Linked DNA regions of Homo sapiens: all the other regions are linked to region 1. The links are contacts of gene promoters, found by promoter capture Hi-C in blood cells and fetal thymus (Javierre and others, 2016). All regions are on one chromosome and are shown on one strand. The core of a region is centred on a gene start or on the middle of the fragment in contact, and the rest is flanking DNA. Distances in the headings are between cores, read along the strand shown. Region 1 holds the start of KANSL1L (KAT8 regulatory NSL complex subunit 1 like). Region 2 overlaps SNHG31 (small nucleolar RNA host gene 31). Region 3 overlaps INO80D (INO80 complex subunit D). Region 4 holds the start of MDH1B (malate dehydrogenase 1B). Region 5 holds the start of KLF7 (KLF transcription factor 7).

Region 1 (2,686 bases), core at 116-2,615:
AACTTTAAAAAATACTTTATTCATTTTTGCATTTCTGTCCCCAGGGACTAGGACAGTCCTTTGAATATGGTAAATATCCAATAAATACTTACTGATTTAATTATTTTTCACAACACATCATTAGCTTACAATTTTTATTACAATGAAAGTAAATCAATTTCCTAAAATTCTTCCCTTGCCCCATATCGAGGTGCAATTATTCAGTAATTAAAAAAATATAGCTCCAATAAATGCAGCTGGTCATAAAAATTATTTCAGTAATATCACAATCTACTAGAAGAACCAGGAACGAGTAGCTAATTTTCCAATTCCAGTTATCTATGTTACGGATTACGCTTTGTTATGACTGCAATTCCTTGGATTTCTCCCCTCTTCCGCCCCCGGGATCTTATCCAATTGATAAGGTTAAAATAATGGCTATTATCCTTCTGGCTTAAAAAGCCTAGTGCTCTTCGTTCCTTAAATCATTTCATGTGTAAATTCGGTGCTTAGGAAAGACTGTGATACAACATCTAAGAAGCTACATTTAGAGTTCAGTTTTAAAAAAATCGAGTTCTTGGCTGGGGAAGTGCCCAGGTGCAGGTTTGTTTTGTGGTGAGCGGTTCGCGGGGCCAGGTGCAAGACGCTCAGAAGTGTTTTTGGGTGTCGCTGGCCAACTATCTCCACATAAACTCCGTTTGTTTATTTGACAGCGTTACTGCAGAGGGGAGTTAGGTCCAGCGCCACTCAAACCAGATTTGTAGAGACTTAAAACTGCTTTGTCTGTTTTTTTTTTTTTAATCATAAAACCACCCAGTTGGATCCAAGGCAAATTTGTCACCTACTTCAGGGCCCCTCTGAGGGTCAGAAAGAATTATGAGCGCATTTGAACGCACGGCCCAAATAAAAGCAAACGCACGGAGACTTGCGGACTTGACAATTGTGAGAAATCTCTTAAAACTCGCCTGTGGAGCGGCGGGCGAAAGCCGCGGACGCCAGCAGTAGTCGAGGCCCCGGCGCGGACGGCAGGGAATGAAGTCGCCTGACTTTTCCTCAGGGTTTTGTTTTTCTGTCACGGAGGTACAAAAATAGCAAAGCAGGGGTGGGAAGTCTCCTGGCCGTGTTTTTTTTTTTCCCCCTCGCCAGGGATGGCACTGGGAAAGAGAAGGGAGGAAGCAGGAGCTGCACGGAACCCGTCCCGAGGGAGCCGAGGTAAACCCTGCACCAGAGTTAAGGGAGTCGTGCTCCTGCCACTTCCAGAACACTCCGAGCCGCTTCTGCAGGCCCCGCCCCCTGCCGGGGTTTCCCCGCCACCCGCTTCATTTGCATGGCGCTGCCCCTCCCCCGTTGCCATTGGCTAGCGCCGGGCCCCGCCCACTGCTCCCAGACCGCGGCAGGGTTCCGTCCCCCCGAGCCGCACGGAGCTGCGGGCAGCGGGCGGACTGTTAAACCGCGGCGGCGGCGGCGGCGGCGGCGGCGGCGGCGGCGGCGGCGGCGGCCGGGGCGGGAGCGGGGCGCGCTCTGGAGACGAGTCAGCGGCGCCCCGGGTGGGGGAGGCGGGCGGGCAGCTAGAGATCACCTCAGCAGCCCCCACCACGGCCGGACCGAAGGTGCGGCGGCGGAGGGGAGCCAGGGCGCCCCAGCAGGCGAGTGGCCGGCGTCTCAGCGGCGGGATGACGGGGGTGGGTCTTCCCTCTTGGGGACGGCGGCAGCGCGGGGAGGGGAGAAGACTGCCGGGTGGACTTGCGGGTCAGGCGACCGACCGGCAGCCCCTTCGCCCCCCGAATCCTCTGGGCTGCTGGACTCTGGTCTCGGCACGGGATCGCGCTCTAGGGCGGGGGTCTGACCGCAGCCAAATTTAAACGGCTAAACCTAACAGCCTTGGCAGCTGGGGAGGGAAGGGGTCTAGGGAGGGGTGGGGGCGGACCTGGACGCCGGTCACGTGGGGGGTGGGGCTTGGCAGACCTCCCTTTTGTTTTGGCTGGCGCGTGCGCAGAAGGCAGAACACGTGGTTTCCTGGACCCGCCTCTTGCCTCATCGGCTGAGCCTCACCCATTGGGGGTGTGGTGACGGCTCTTTTGAGGCGGCTCTGAGGCGGAGCCCACTGGATTTGATGAGACCCCTATTTTATTTATTTCACACTTTCTTTCAGGAAAACGTAGATTTGGGCTTTAGAGTTAGATGGGATAGAGCAGAATCTAGGGGATTTTTGAGGGACGGTGCTTCCAAGTTTGTGTCACCGGTGTGCTGAGGAAGGGACCGGTCTTGCTGGAAAAAGTCAGATTGCGTGGTGTTTGGTAGCAAGAAATACCAGGCGGTATCCTGGCCGTTTCAGAAACCACAGGAAAGGAAAGAGGCTGGCTTTGCAGTCGGGAGGGCAGGCACTGGATGGACGTTCTTGTAATGTTTTCTTACTCTGGGAGAGTCCGTTTTTGTTTGTTTTTTTGTTTGAACTGTGGTAAGCACATTCCGTTTTTGATTCCCCAAACTTCAGGACATTCATGTTCTGGCGAGGTTTAGGAGACAAACTTCCTTCGTCTTTAGCCAGTTTGCTTAACTTCATCTGAGTTTGGGTCAGTAATAATTTTAAATATTGCTGGATGGGGCAGGTTTGTTAGCCACAAAACCTAAGTGAAGTGAGCACTGCAGACAAAACTGGCAATTTCTGACTAGGAAAAAATGACTCTAAAAATAATTCAGTATTGAG
Region 2 (2,686 bases), core at 131-2,630, 4.6 Mb before region 1:
ATTGTATATGAGGCATATTTAAATATATTGGTTACTTCTCACTTGTGCTTTGAATGAAATTTAAATTATTGCATGAATTTTGATTAAACTGATTACAGAATTTTGAAACACAATGGAACCCAAACTAGGGCCAATGCTCATTTCCTAAATGAACATTTTATGTGCAAACAAACAGCTGCTAGAATCCAACAGAATTTAAAACAAGCTGTTTGTAAATTTTACTGACAGCTGTTTTTGGTGATTTTTGTCAACAGAATTTTCCTGCTTTGCATCACAGCATCCTTTTATTATAGTATCCCCTCAAAGTATAACTTGCTTGCTTTAATCACGTTTACAGAGATTTATGACTTGATGCTTATTCAGTGGTAGAGCTTCTCAACACAAAATGTCAGTGAGCCTGTTATAAATTGCTTCTGGCATTCCTACTCTATCTTTTATTTGGCTGGGAGTATTTCCACCTGAAAGTGATAAATTCCTGTTATAACCACTTTATGTGCTTCAGTAATTACACTGTACAGAAAAAGAGGATTTCTACTGAGGTGTCTCCTTAAAAATAGCAAGCAATAAAAGGCAGTGGAATGGGCTGAACTCTGAAGTCTATTGAACAAAAAACAATGACCAGTGAAATATGTGTGTCAGACTGAATTTGATAAATGATCAGGAAGTACAGAAGATACCAAAACCTTTAAAACAACTACTGTGGGGTCATAGTAATGTAACTATGTCCTTAGACTAGTTACTTTTAAGCCTGTGACAGAAATTTGGCAGGTGCCCACAAGAATGGAGTTAACATCCTTTCAAAAACAATCTTAAAATATCTAGATGCTTCTAGAGACTTGGGTAATTCTAAACTAAATGCCAAGGTGTACATGACATAGGGACTGAGTTGGTATGTACTAGTCAAAGAGACTGTGGCATGCTAAAACGGTTCAGTACAGTACACTGCAGCCAATAACTTGATCAATACATATACACACAATTGAACTGATTGAAATACACATTAATCATGATATTCATGGGTGGTTTGTTTGCTTCATATATGCTGTCTCTAGTACGTAGGACAAAATTACTGTTTTTAATTGCTTAGGCTTTTTTTTGTTCTTAAATGAGCAACAAAATGATGTAAATAAAAGATGTTTAAGTTAATGAAACAAAATTATAAACATTTTCATTGTCACGTCCTAATATTATGCCAACGATGGTGTTAGGAATCAGGTGGATACTTTATCTGAGATGATACTAAAAGAGACTATAATCAGTAAATAGGATTTAAGCTTCCTTTCCAGGTGATTGCATTATATTTGCATAGGAATTGCTACTGCAAGTATCTCTGTTCCAATAGCCACAGAATAAGTGGTTCTTTGCTTAGAATATGTACTCTTTCATAGGAGAAATCATAAGCCAGTGTAGCTGGCTTCATGCAACTCAACAATGCCAGTCCTAACAATGGAAAAATATGTTGTGCACTTATTGTGTTTTAAGCTTTAATATATATATTAAAGTTTAGGACAGTCCATTGCAAAGGGATGTCCATTGGTTGTGCTGCACTTCTGGTTTAGGACAGTTTCATAAACTGTAATTCCTTTCTCACCACAACCCTTTGAGTATGAGATTGACATATATTAACCCTAAATTTACAAAAGATGAAACTAAGTTCCAAGATGGGTTACACAATGGACAAAATTGTAGGAAATGTCAAGGCTAGGTTTATAATTCAGTTCTGCTTGACTCCAGATCACCGTGTACTTAATCATTACGCCACATTGAATTTCAGAAAAAAAAACAGCACAAAGCATATGACTTTACCTTAATAGCATCATATAAAGGCAAGCTCAGTCAAATGTGCACAGCACACACCACAGTCCTAGATGCTGGGATGGTCTGCTCTATTCCATCAATTACCATATTCAATTGCTCCTTATCAAATGTTTCAAACTACATTTTTTTGTGGGGGGACTACACTTCATAGAGGGGTGCTTGCAAACAAAATTTGTATCTGACAAAAAGAATGCTCTCAGGAAGTCGAAGTGGCCTTTTCCAGTGCATAATACCATAATTAAAAATCAGAGAAGAATTAATATAAAGGTAAGAATTTGTGAGATATCTTTACACTCCTTGGGAGTAGAGTCTGGGTATTATGGATATCCCATTTTGCTTGTTATATATGTTTATCCAAGTGAATATGAGGAAGATTTACCTCTTTGTAAAACACTTCATAACACAACAGAAGAGAAAACAGCATTTTGACTGTTTTCAACAAACCATTATATAAGCCTGAAGATCAGAAAAGAATTCAAGGCTGGAGATGCCTTCATAGCATGGTAACACTACAGAGGGTAACTGAAGCAGTCGGGGGGATGAGGGTTTAAGTGGGCCTGGAGAGAGGAGGATAGGTAAATAAGGCTGAAGCAAGCTTATCTGCATGCCTCAGAATCCACCCAGGACTACAGTGTTACAGTGGGGGAGGGATGGATGATTTTGAGTCTAGGATACTTGGGAATACTGCTTACTAGGAAGAGAACAGACTAGGAGTGAAATGGAGCAACAAGTCTAAACTTTTATGTACACAGGAGGTCCTTGCAGGGAAAACTCTGAAAAAGAAATGATACCATTTAGCCCTTTTTAAAGTGAGAAGAAGAGGACATTGTTCATGTCCTAAACCATGGCTTTACTGAGACCCTGCTGA
Region 3 (2,686 bases), core at 91-2,590, 4.1 Mb after region 1:
TGAGCTTAAGAAAATCTTGATATTTGAGATTGTATGGATCTGATACAAAAATGCAAATTACATTTAATGGTTGTTTTAAGTTTATTGATTAATTGAAATTGTTTATTGACATGGACATTTTTTTAAACATGTGTACCAAAAATCGTTACTTCTATTATAGTTTGTCCTTATTTTTAGAGCATATACTGGATGGAAAAAAATCATTCTTAGTCATTTTTCTTGGAACATTTTAAGGTTTGAAAAAAATTGTTATTGCCTTATAATTTGATATTTTAAAGGTATATTGTTGACTTCACATTCCTAAGCTTTCCAAAACTATGTGTACAAATACCAAAAAAGTTTTGTACTTTTTCCCACCCTACCTCAAACATGTATTAATTTCCTAACCTGATCGCCTAATGGGCTACTTTATTTCCTGAAGGAATGACAGGTTTGATGTTTTTAAAAGTTACATTCCATTTGAAATTAATAAAAGATTTTCAGGGCAAATACTGAATTAACTTTAAACTACTAAGGGAATATGCTTTTTTATTATTAAGTGTTAGTTTAAAAAGTAAATGGTTAGTATAATTACAAGTCTGAAATAATCAAGTTTTCTTTCCTCTGGAAGATTTTTAGGAGGAAATTTGTATATCCCATTCCAACTTTTTCTCAGCAAATCATGTTGCTACTATTTTTAGAGAAATAAAAATTTTAGTTTAGAAGGAATTAAACATTTCTGAGAGCACCCAAAATTAATGACATTTCAAAAAAATGCTAAACTATTTATTCATACCTGAGATGTTCTCTGAGGGTTAGCAGCTCTCACTATCCAGGTTTGGTACAATGGTTATGGCTAATGAAAAGTCATTTATATTTGAATACAGTTAGAGCAATATTCTCAGACACTTTTCTTTCCCCCTCCCCCACACCTGGTAACTGGTAAAACAATGGTTGAATAGGTGAGACTGGGTTGGAGGCAGCAAATTGTCCCCAGTGCTAAGTCAGTTTAACTTACACATGCAGCTCTGTGCTAGGCAAAACAAACAGCAATAGAGTCTCCTCACTTCTTCAAGCAAGAGTTTGTCCCAGAAGTCCTGACTGTAAAGGCTGATTTTTGACAATGCTCCTGGCTAGTTTGAGATACTGAGGAAATACTCAATTTAAAACCTTAAGCCTCCCTCTTTTCCCTCCTTGCACGTAAGGTGACAGACTACTTGGTTCTCATCCTTTCACAGAATGTGATTTGTTTTTAAGATGAGTTTTTAGGCCGGGCGTGGTGGCTCACGCCTGTAATCCCAGCACTTTGGGAGGCTGAGGCGGGCGGATCACCTGAGGTCCGGAGTTCGAGACCAGCCTGACCAACATGGAGAAACCCCGTCGCTACTAAAAATACAAAATTAGCCAGGCGTGGTGGTGTATGCCTGTAATCCCAGCTACTCTGGAGGCTGAGGCAGGAGAATCACTTGAACCTGGGAGGCGGAGGTTGCAGTGAGCCAGGATTGCACCATTGCATTCCAGCCTGGGCAACCAGAGCAAAACTCTATCTCAAAAAAAATAAAAGATGAGTTTTTGGTGAAATTTTATTTGTAGCATGACTTCCTGCAGTGACACCTTTAGACTGGGCTTTGAGTTCTGATCCCAGTCCTTCCGCTGGGCAAGTTATTTAGTCTTTGGTTTCTTTAACTTAAAATGGGAATAAAATTCTTTGATATAAGGGTTAGATGAGATAGCCATGTGTTTGGCCCATAATAGTATTAATTAAATGTTAATTCCACTAGCCCACTTTACTTTTCTTTCTTTCTTTCTTTCTTTCTTTTTTTTTTTTTTTGAGACAGGGTCTCACTCTGTTGTCGAGCCTGGAGTACAGTGGCATGATTACAGCTCACTGCAGCCTCAACCTCCTGGGCTCCAGTGATCCTCCCACCTCAGGTGTGCCTGTAGTCAGCCAGGACTACAGGTGCTTGCCACCATGCCTGGCTAATTTTTGTATTTTTTGTAGAGACAGGGTTTCCCCATGTTGCCCAGGCTGGTCTCAAACTCCTGGATGCAAGGGATCCGCCTGCCTCAGTCTTTCCAAGTGCTGGGATTATAGGTGTGAGCCACCAGGCCTGGCCTCCACCTTACTTTTCTAGTAGTAACATCTAAATACTATTTCTCTTGTTTCCTTTTTTAAATAACTGAAAGTAATACTGTACTATACATACTATAGTAGGCTTATGCTATATTTGGAGAGTAGACCTGTTTTTCCCACTCAAAGGATAACCACTGTTTAACACTTTCGTGTGCTTTTTCTCTTTATGTGTATGCATACAGCAGAAACAAAGAGGAAAAACGTAAGGGTAGGATTGTCCATGTAATGGTAGTTGTGTCGTTTTGTATTGGTTAAAAGCTTGGGCTCTGGAGCAAATAGGCCTTGCATCCTGACTGTGTGACCTTGGATAATGACAATTACTTAATCTGATTAAGTCTCAGTTTTCTTCGTCTGTAAAAGGGGGTAATAATAGTACCTACTTCATAGGGTTGCTGTGAAGACTAAATGAGGAATTGAACATAAAGCCTTTAGAATGGTTCCTGAAGCATAACCTTTATATTTTCTTGGTGCATAACTTTTTCTGGTGCATAACTTTTCTATTTTTTTCTAAAGATTTTTAATATTCTTTTTTTTTTTTTTTTTTTTTTTTTGAGACTGAGTCTCACTCTGTCG
Region 4 (2,686 bases), core at 64-2,563, 3.4 Mb after region 1:
TAGGGGAAGAAGTAATGAAAAGAATAAAAATTAAAACAAAACTTTTACTTAAAGAAATGAAATGCATTTAACAGAAGAGAAAATGGGGAACCTATGGAGCCATTAAACATTTACATAAAACAGTAAAAGTTTTTTTTACCAATGTGGGCTCCCTCCAATCTACCACAATGTGTCCAGTTTCAAAGAAGCCAGGTCACTTTGGAAGTAGTCATTGTATTAATGAGATTTTTCTGGTGCAAAAGCGTTCCATAAAGCTTTCTCTGTAGGAGAGACTTTTGTTGGCATTGTTATGGAAATGTCCTCGGTGAAAATTAGGGGATTAGCATTGATAGATCATTTTCTTTTCTCTTCTCTGTTTTTTTTTTTTTTTTTTTTTTTTTTGAGACAAAGTCTTGCTATGTCCCCCAGGCTAGAGTGCAGTGGCGCGATCTTGGCTCACTGCAACCTCCACCTCCCAGGTTCAAGCAATTCTCCTGTCTCAGCCTCCCAAGTAGCTGGGATTACAGGCGTATGCCACCACGCCCGGCTAATTTTTGTATTTTTTGTAAAGACGGAGTTTCACCATGTTGGCCAGGCTGGTCCTGAACTCCTGACCTCAGGTAATCCACCCGCCTCGGCCTCCCAAGGCGTGAGTCACCGCGCCCGGCTGATAGATCATTTTCAACATGACGATTTAGCAACGGCCGAACCCAGACCATCAAGAATAGGGACCTGGGCAGGTAGAACGGCTCAGTGGAAGAAGCAGAAAACGAAAGCGATGTCTGCACGTGGCCTGCGCTTAAGAGGAAGATCTTATACAACCAGCCAGCCTCACCAGACCCCAGAACCAACTTCAAGAGCCTGTCCTTCCGCAGCTGGGCCGCCCAGCATTAACCCACCTCCTTTAAACTTACTTCCAGGACAACTCGTGAGACTCTTCTCCTCGAAGTAAAAAGTCTAGGATGTGATACGGGCTGCCGCTAAGCCCAAGCTCGTCCTCCACTCACCTTAGAGCACAAGACCGTGACTACGTACAGGAGCAGCCATGACAGCTTCCCCGAGAAGCTGCGCTTCTCACGAGATCTTACGGATTCCCTCAAAGGTCAAAAAGCATATGTTCGCGGCTGTAGCTGAAGGACTTACTTGAAGAAAGTTTACCAAGGAGAATGACTAATTTCCCTGCATACAGGAGTGGGGCTCGGGGATACCACAGAGCTTATAAGGGCGATGTTTGATCGTGTATCGCAACGTAACCCATTCAGGTCCTAACTTTAAACACCTAACCTCTGCTGGGCGCCAGACTTTGTAGTGCGCCTGCGCCTTGCCCTTGGCTGCGTGGTTGCCAGGAAACCGCGAAGCCGCGGTCCCTGCCTCTGAGTCTCTCTCGACCATGGCCAAATTCGTCATCGCGGGTGAGTGATCCCCGCGTCCGCCCGCAGATTGCTCAAAACGCCGACAACAGCTCACCTCCCATGGCCGCTCGGCTTGGCAGCCTCTATACGGACCGCTCCATGCTTTGCTATAGATTTATTCAAAGTTTTTTACTGGACCGTGACGGTGCGCCAAGCATTGTGGGACACTGGGGATGCAATGGAGGGAAACATATCCCTGCCTTAGAGGAGCTTTCAGTCTCATGGGGCACAGAACATGTACTTTTGATACGGTGTGATTAACGCGATGAAGGAGACCTGCACAGGCCTCTGGGAGCGTAGACTCCTAATCTGGGTTTGGGGGATGAGGGAGAGGTGGACACAAGGAACTGGCTGGGGAAGGTATTACAGGAGCTGAGTTGTGAAGGTGTGAGCTGAGGAGGCTATTCCAAATAAAAGCAGAGAGGCAGGAAGCTTCCTGGCCTAACAGAAGATCTGGATATGTGGGGCGTGACAGGACCTGGGGCTACAACAGGAGCAGGAGCCAGGTCCTTGCATTTCATGTAGGTCAAGCAAAGGTGTTTGAACTGTATCCTGAAAGCAATGAGGAATTATAGAAAAATTTTAAGCAGGAGAGTAGTCTTAATGAGTTTGCATTTTAGGAAGCCTGTCTTGGCAGCAACGGAGAGAATGATTGAAAGTGCTGGTTGACAGCAAGGACTCAACTGAGAAGGCTTTTATTACAACAATCCATGGTACCTACCTCCTCTCCTCGTAAAGTTTCTTAAAAGAGTAGACTGCTCTTCCATCTCCAGTTCTGCCTTCCAATCAGTCTTGGAAGAAGGCTTCTACTTCTGCTTCCTGACAGAAACTGCTGTCACCAAAGTCACCACTGACTTTTATAGAAGCTGTTTAGTCTTTGACTTATTTGATCTCTTTGATGCATTGAACACAATTGACATCTACCATCCACAGGAGATTTTTTTTTTTTTTTGAGACAGGCTCTCACTTTGTCACCCAGGCTGGATTGCAGTGGTGCAATCGTGGCTCACAGCAGCTTTGACCTCCTGGGCTCAAGCGATCCTCCCACCTCAGCCTCCCAAGTAGCTGGGACTACAGGCATACACCAGCATGCCCAGCTAATTTTTGTATTTTTGTAGAGATGGGGTTTTGTCATGTTGCCCACGCTGGTCTTGAACTCCTACGCTCAAGTGATTTGCCCACCTTGACCTCCCAAAGTGCCAAGATTACAGGCATGCACCACCACACCTGGCCCAGAAGAATATTTTTGAACACTGACTAACCACATGGTGGGAAGTCAGTGGAAAACACACAGA
Region 5 (2,686 bases), core at 133-2,632, 3.0 Mb after region 1:
GGGAAGCTTAAACCACACTAACCATTTAAGGTCAAGCAAACAATTGGCCAACCCTAACGTGAATTGTGCAGGGTTTTCATCTCAGATGTAACAGATCTCTCTATGTCTACATCCCAACTCCAGAAAACGAGAAATCGAGTTCCTCCTCTCACCATCGAAGCTCTGCAGACACCTCGCTGGAGACCCCATGGTGAGCCTCATCACGTAAAGGCCCCCTCGCAAGCTGCCGGCTCCAGCTTGCGCCCCACGTCTACCTAGGCTCCCTCTAGCCTCTTTAACGCACAGTCGAGCAACAGGCCCCTTGCAATCAACTCTAGCCGCCGGACTCCCGACCAGGTCTCTCGCTCGGGGTCAGAAGGAGGCGCGGGAGGGAGGGCGGCGGCGGCGGCGCCCGCGGGGCGGGGCGGGGACTGTGCGCAAGCGGGGGGCGGGCGCAGGCCGCGGTCTCGCTCCGCTCCCCTTTGTTCTCTCCCATTGTGTGGCACTTCCTCCTCAGGCGCTTCTTCTCTGCACCCTGGCAGCCCGTGGGGAGTTCGGGAAGGGGCCCTGGATGCCTTTTCTGCTTGTTTTTGAGTACGTGAGGACCTCCCCGGCACCGCCTCGCGCGGGTCCCTGCCCCGTGCCCAGGCGGAGGCGGGGTGGCCACTGTCCTTCCTTCCCGCTCCGCGCCCTCGGCGGCTTCCCCGCGGCCCCCTGCGCCGCGCCCCCTCCAGGAGGCGTCCTGACCCCGCACTCCGGCCTTTCACCTCCCGACCGTCAGCCTCAGGGCCGCCGCGGCGACGCGCGACCCCTTCCCTCTGAGGGGCGCGGGCTCCGGACGCGCCGGGCTCTGCCAGGCATCTAGTGGAGGGTCGGAGGTCGGCGACCAGCCCGAGCCCAGCCGTCCCGGGAGCTGGCGCGAGTGTCGCCACGACCCTCCCTGTCCCTTGCGCTCGCGCTGCCCGGCCGCCGGGCGGCCGCCTCAGCCCCCTTATATAGCCCTCTAAAAATAGCTCGCCTCGCACCGCCTTGTAAGGCAGCAGGGAGATCCGCAGCGTGCCAATCCGCGCCCGCCGCCAGGGCCAAGCCCCGCCCCAGGCTCTGCTCCGGGCTCCCCATTGGTCCTCAGTGACTTCATGAGCCCCCTGTTTACCTTACATGGTCACACGCGGCCTAATGGACGCCCTCCTCGAGATCCCACGGCTGCGCGGAGAACCGAACGGAGGGAGGGAGTTTGGGGAGGGGGAAGAGCAGGAGGAGGAGAAAAGGGAGGGGGAAGACTACAAACTAGCAAGGATGGGGTGGGGGGTGGGGAGGGAAGGGAAGGGGGGGGAAGAGAAGCGATCGCGAGAGAAAAAAATGCAACCTCCCAAAATAAAGAGCAAAGATTGCATTAGGAGCGAACAGCGCTGCAGAAATAGATGGCAGCTTCGTGTCAGTGAGTTTGCATCCCCCTTCCTGATCCACGAGCTGGAGTGATTAGAGCCCTGGAAGGGAATTGTTACTCCCGTGGAGAAGTCCCCTTTTCCTGGCAGTCGTCTGCACTGTACACGCTGGATGCCTCTCTCCATCCACCCCACTCACTCGCTCCTCTCTCACCTCCTCTCTCCCTCTCCTGCATTGATTTTTTTTTTTCCTTTTTAGTTGACTGAAACAAAACAAAACAAAAGGGCCACTGGATGTCTGCCTTCTTGGGGGGTGAGCCAGACAGACTGACAAACAAACAGCCCCAACTGTGTTCGGGGGAGGGTTTCGCCTCCCGTTTTGCCCGGCAGCAGCAGCATGGACGTGTTGGCTAGTTATAGTATATTCCAGGAGCTACAACTTGTCCACGACACCGGCTACTTCTCAGCTTTACCATCCCTGGAGGAGACCTGGCAGCAGGTGAATGATTTAAATTACTTGTGTAAATCGTGTGGTGGCGGCGGAGACGCAGGGGCTGCGTTGGTGTGGGCTCTGGGTTGAAATTTTTGTTTGTTTGTTTGACTTTTTTTTCTTCCTTTTTGGCTGTCTGTTGTTGAAAATGTTTTCTGAAACAGTCATCTGCGCTTACCTCTCCACCCACCCCTAACCTCGTAGAGTGCCGAGCTGAGCAGCCGGTGCGAGCTGCCTGCGTTTCAGTCGCCAACACACATCCCTGCGCACACGTTGTCGGGTTTGCTGTCCCCTATCAGAGACCTGCCGAACTTCTGGGGTTCGGAGGAGCCGGGTGGGAAGGTGGTTTGGGGTGTTAGGAGCGATTGCTGACAGGGACCACGTTCTCGCATGCATGAGCTCTACCCACTTGATACCTGAAATCAGGTTCATCTGTTTCAACTGGTGCTTATGACCATCGGATGGGGGGCGGGGGAGGGTGGGCAGGAGCAAAGCGGAGTGTTTTTCAGTAATTAGCGAGTGTCAATAAAGAATAGGAGCTTGATTTTGAGATTAGAAGGTAGGCAAAAGAGAGAAGAGCCCACTGACAAAAGATACTCAAGGAGGACGGGAAGATGTAGCTGAGGCTGACAATGAATTGTAGGTTTTCCCAGTGTGATCCCTCCAGAAAGAGAACACCCTCTATGCGTGTCCTTGTTTCTCTTTTTTGTTTAGGGTCCTTCTCTAGTTAGGCAGCACAACCTCGGACAAAGGCTGATGTGTGCTTCCATGCCTTTGACTTTGTCTTAGAGGACTAGTTAAGAAACTCCCAGGATGCTGAAGGGCACCGATG

The links. The method cuts DNA at HindIII sites, captures the fragments that hold promoters and counts their contacts. A CHiCAGO score of 5 or more calls a contact.
Region 2: a fragment that was not itself captured here is called in contact with the fragment with the promoter of KANSL1L in region 1 in 1 of 17 cell types (total B cells); the score reaches 5.1 in total B cells.
Region 3: a fragment that was not itself captured here is called in contact with the fragment with the promoter of KANSL1L in region 1 in 1 of 17 cell types (neutrophils); the score reaches 7.8 in neutrophils.
Region 4: a contact is called between the fragment with the promoter of MDH1B here and the fragment with the promoter of KANSL1L in region 1, in 7 of 17 cell types (total CD8 T cells, naive B cells, total B cells and 4 more). The highest score is 10.6, in total CD8 T cells.
Region 5: a contact is called between the fragment with the promoter of KLF7 here and the fragment with the promoter of KANSL1L in region 1, in 2 of 17 cell types (fetal thymus and monocytes). The highest score is 7.2, in fetal thymus.

What each region holds. Positions count from the first base shown.
Region 1 is chr2:210,170,088-210,172,773 of GRCh38, reverse strand. KANSL1L (KAT8 regulatory NSL complex subunit 1 like) reads left to right here and starts at 1,365. Exons shown (of 15, transcript NM_152519.4): 1 at 1,365-1,625. RefSeq lists enhancers at 436-1,069, 1,070-1,705, 2,099-2,278, 1,706-2,340 and silencers at 1,149-1,478, 1,599-1,908. The HindIII fragment of the contact is 7,802 bases long and covers 1-2,686 here.
Region 2 is chr2:214,814,043-214,816,728 of GRCh38, reverse strand. The region is part of intron 1 of SNHG31 (small nucleolar RNA host gene 31); the gene reads right to left. Among named protein-coding and RNA genes, the nearest start is that of SNHG31, 5.2 kb to the right of the region's middle. The HindIII fragment of the contact is 208 bases long and covers 1,277-1,484 here.
Region 3 is chr2:206,080,881-206,083,566 of GRCh38, reverse strand. All of the region lies in intron 1 of INO80D (INO80 complex subunit D), which reads left to right. Among named protein-coding and RNA genes, the nearest start is that of INO80D-AS1, 2.4 kb to the left of the region's middle. RefSeq lists enhancers at 1-96, 793-1,582. The HindIII fragment of the contact is 2,066 bases long and covers 308-2,373 here.
Region 4 is chr2:206,763,955-206,766,640 of GRCh38, reverse strand. It overlaps MDH1B (malate dehydrogenase 1B), which reads left to right and starts at 1,313. Exons shown (of 12, transcript NM_001039845.3): 1 at 1,313-1,391. The coding sequence starts at 1,370. FASTKD2 (FAST kinase domains 2) reads right to left here and starts at 1,035. Exons shown (of 12, transcript NM_001136193.2): 1 at 894-1,035. RefSeq lists enhancers at 765-1,144, 1,395-1,534. The HindIII fragment of the contact is 1,569 bases long and covers 257-1,825 here.
Region 5 is chr2:207,164,644-207,167,329 of GRCh38, reverse strand. KLF7 (KLF transcription factor 7) reads left to right here and starts at 1,382. Exons shown (of 4, transcript NM_003709.4): 1 at 1,382-1,863. The coding sequence starts at 1,762. It overlaps MIR7845 (microRNA 7845), which reads right to left and starts at 930; the gene lies at 832-930. RefSeq lists enhancers at 1-246, 247-954, 955-1,663, 1,671-1,770, 2,372-2,686 and a silencer at 541-1,180. The HindIII fragment of the contact is 8,010 bases long and covers 9-2,686 here.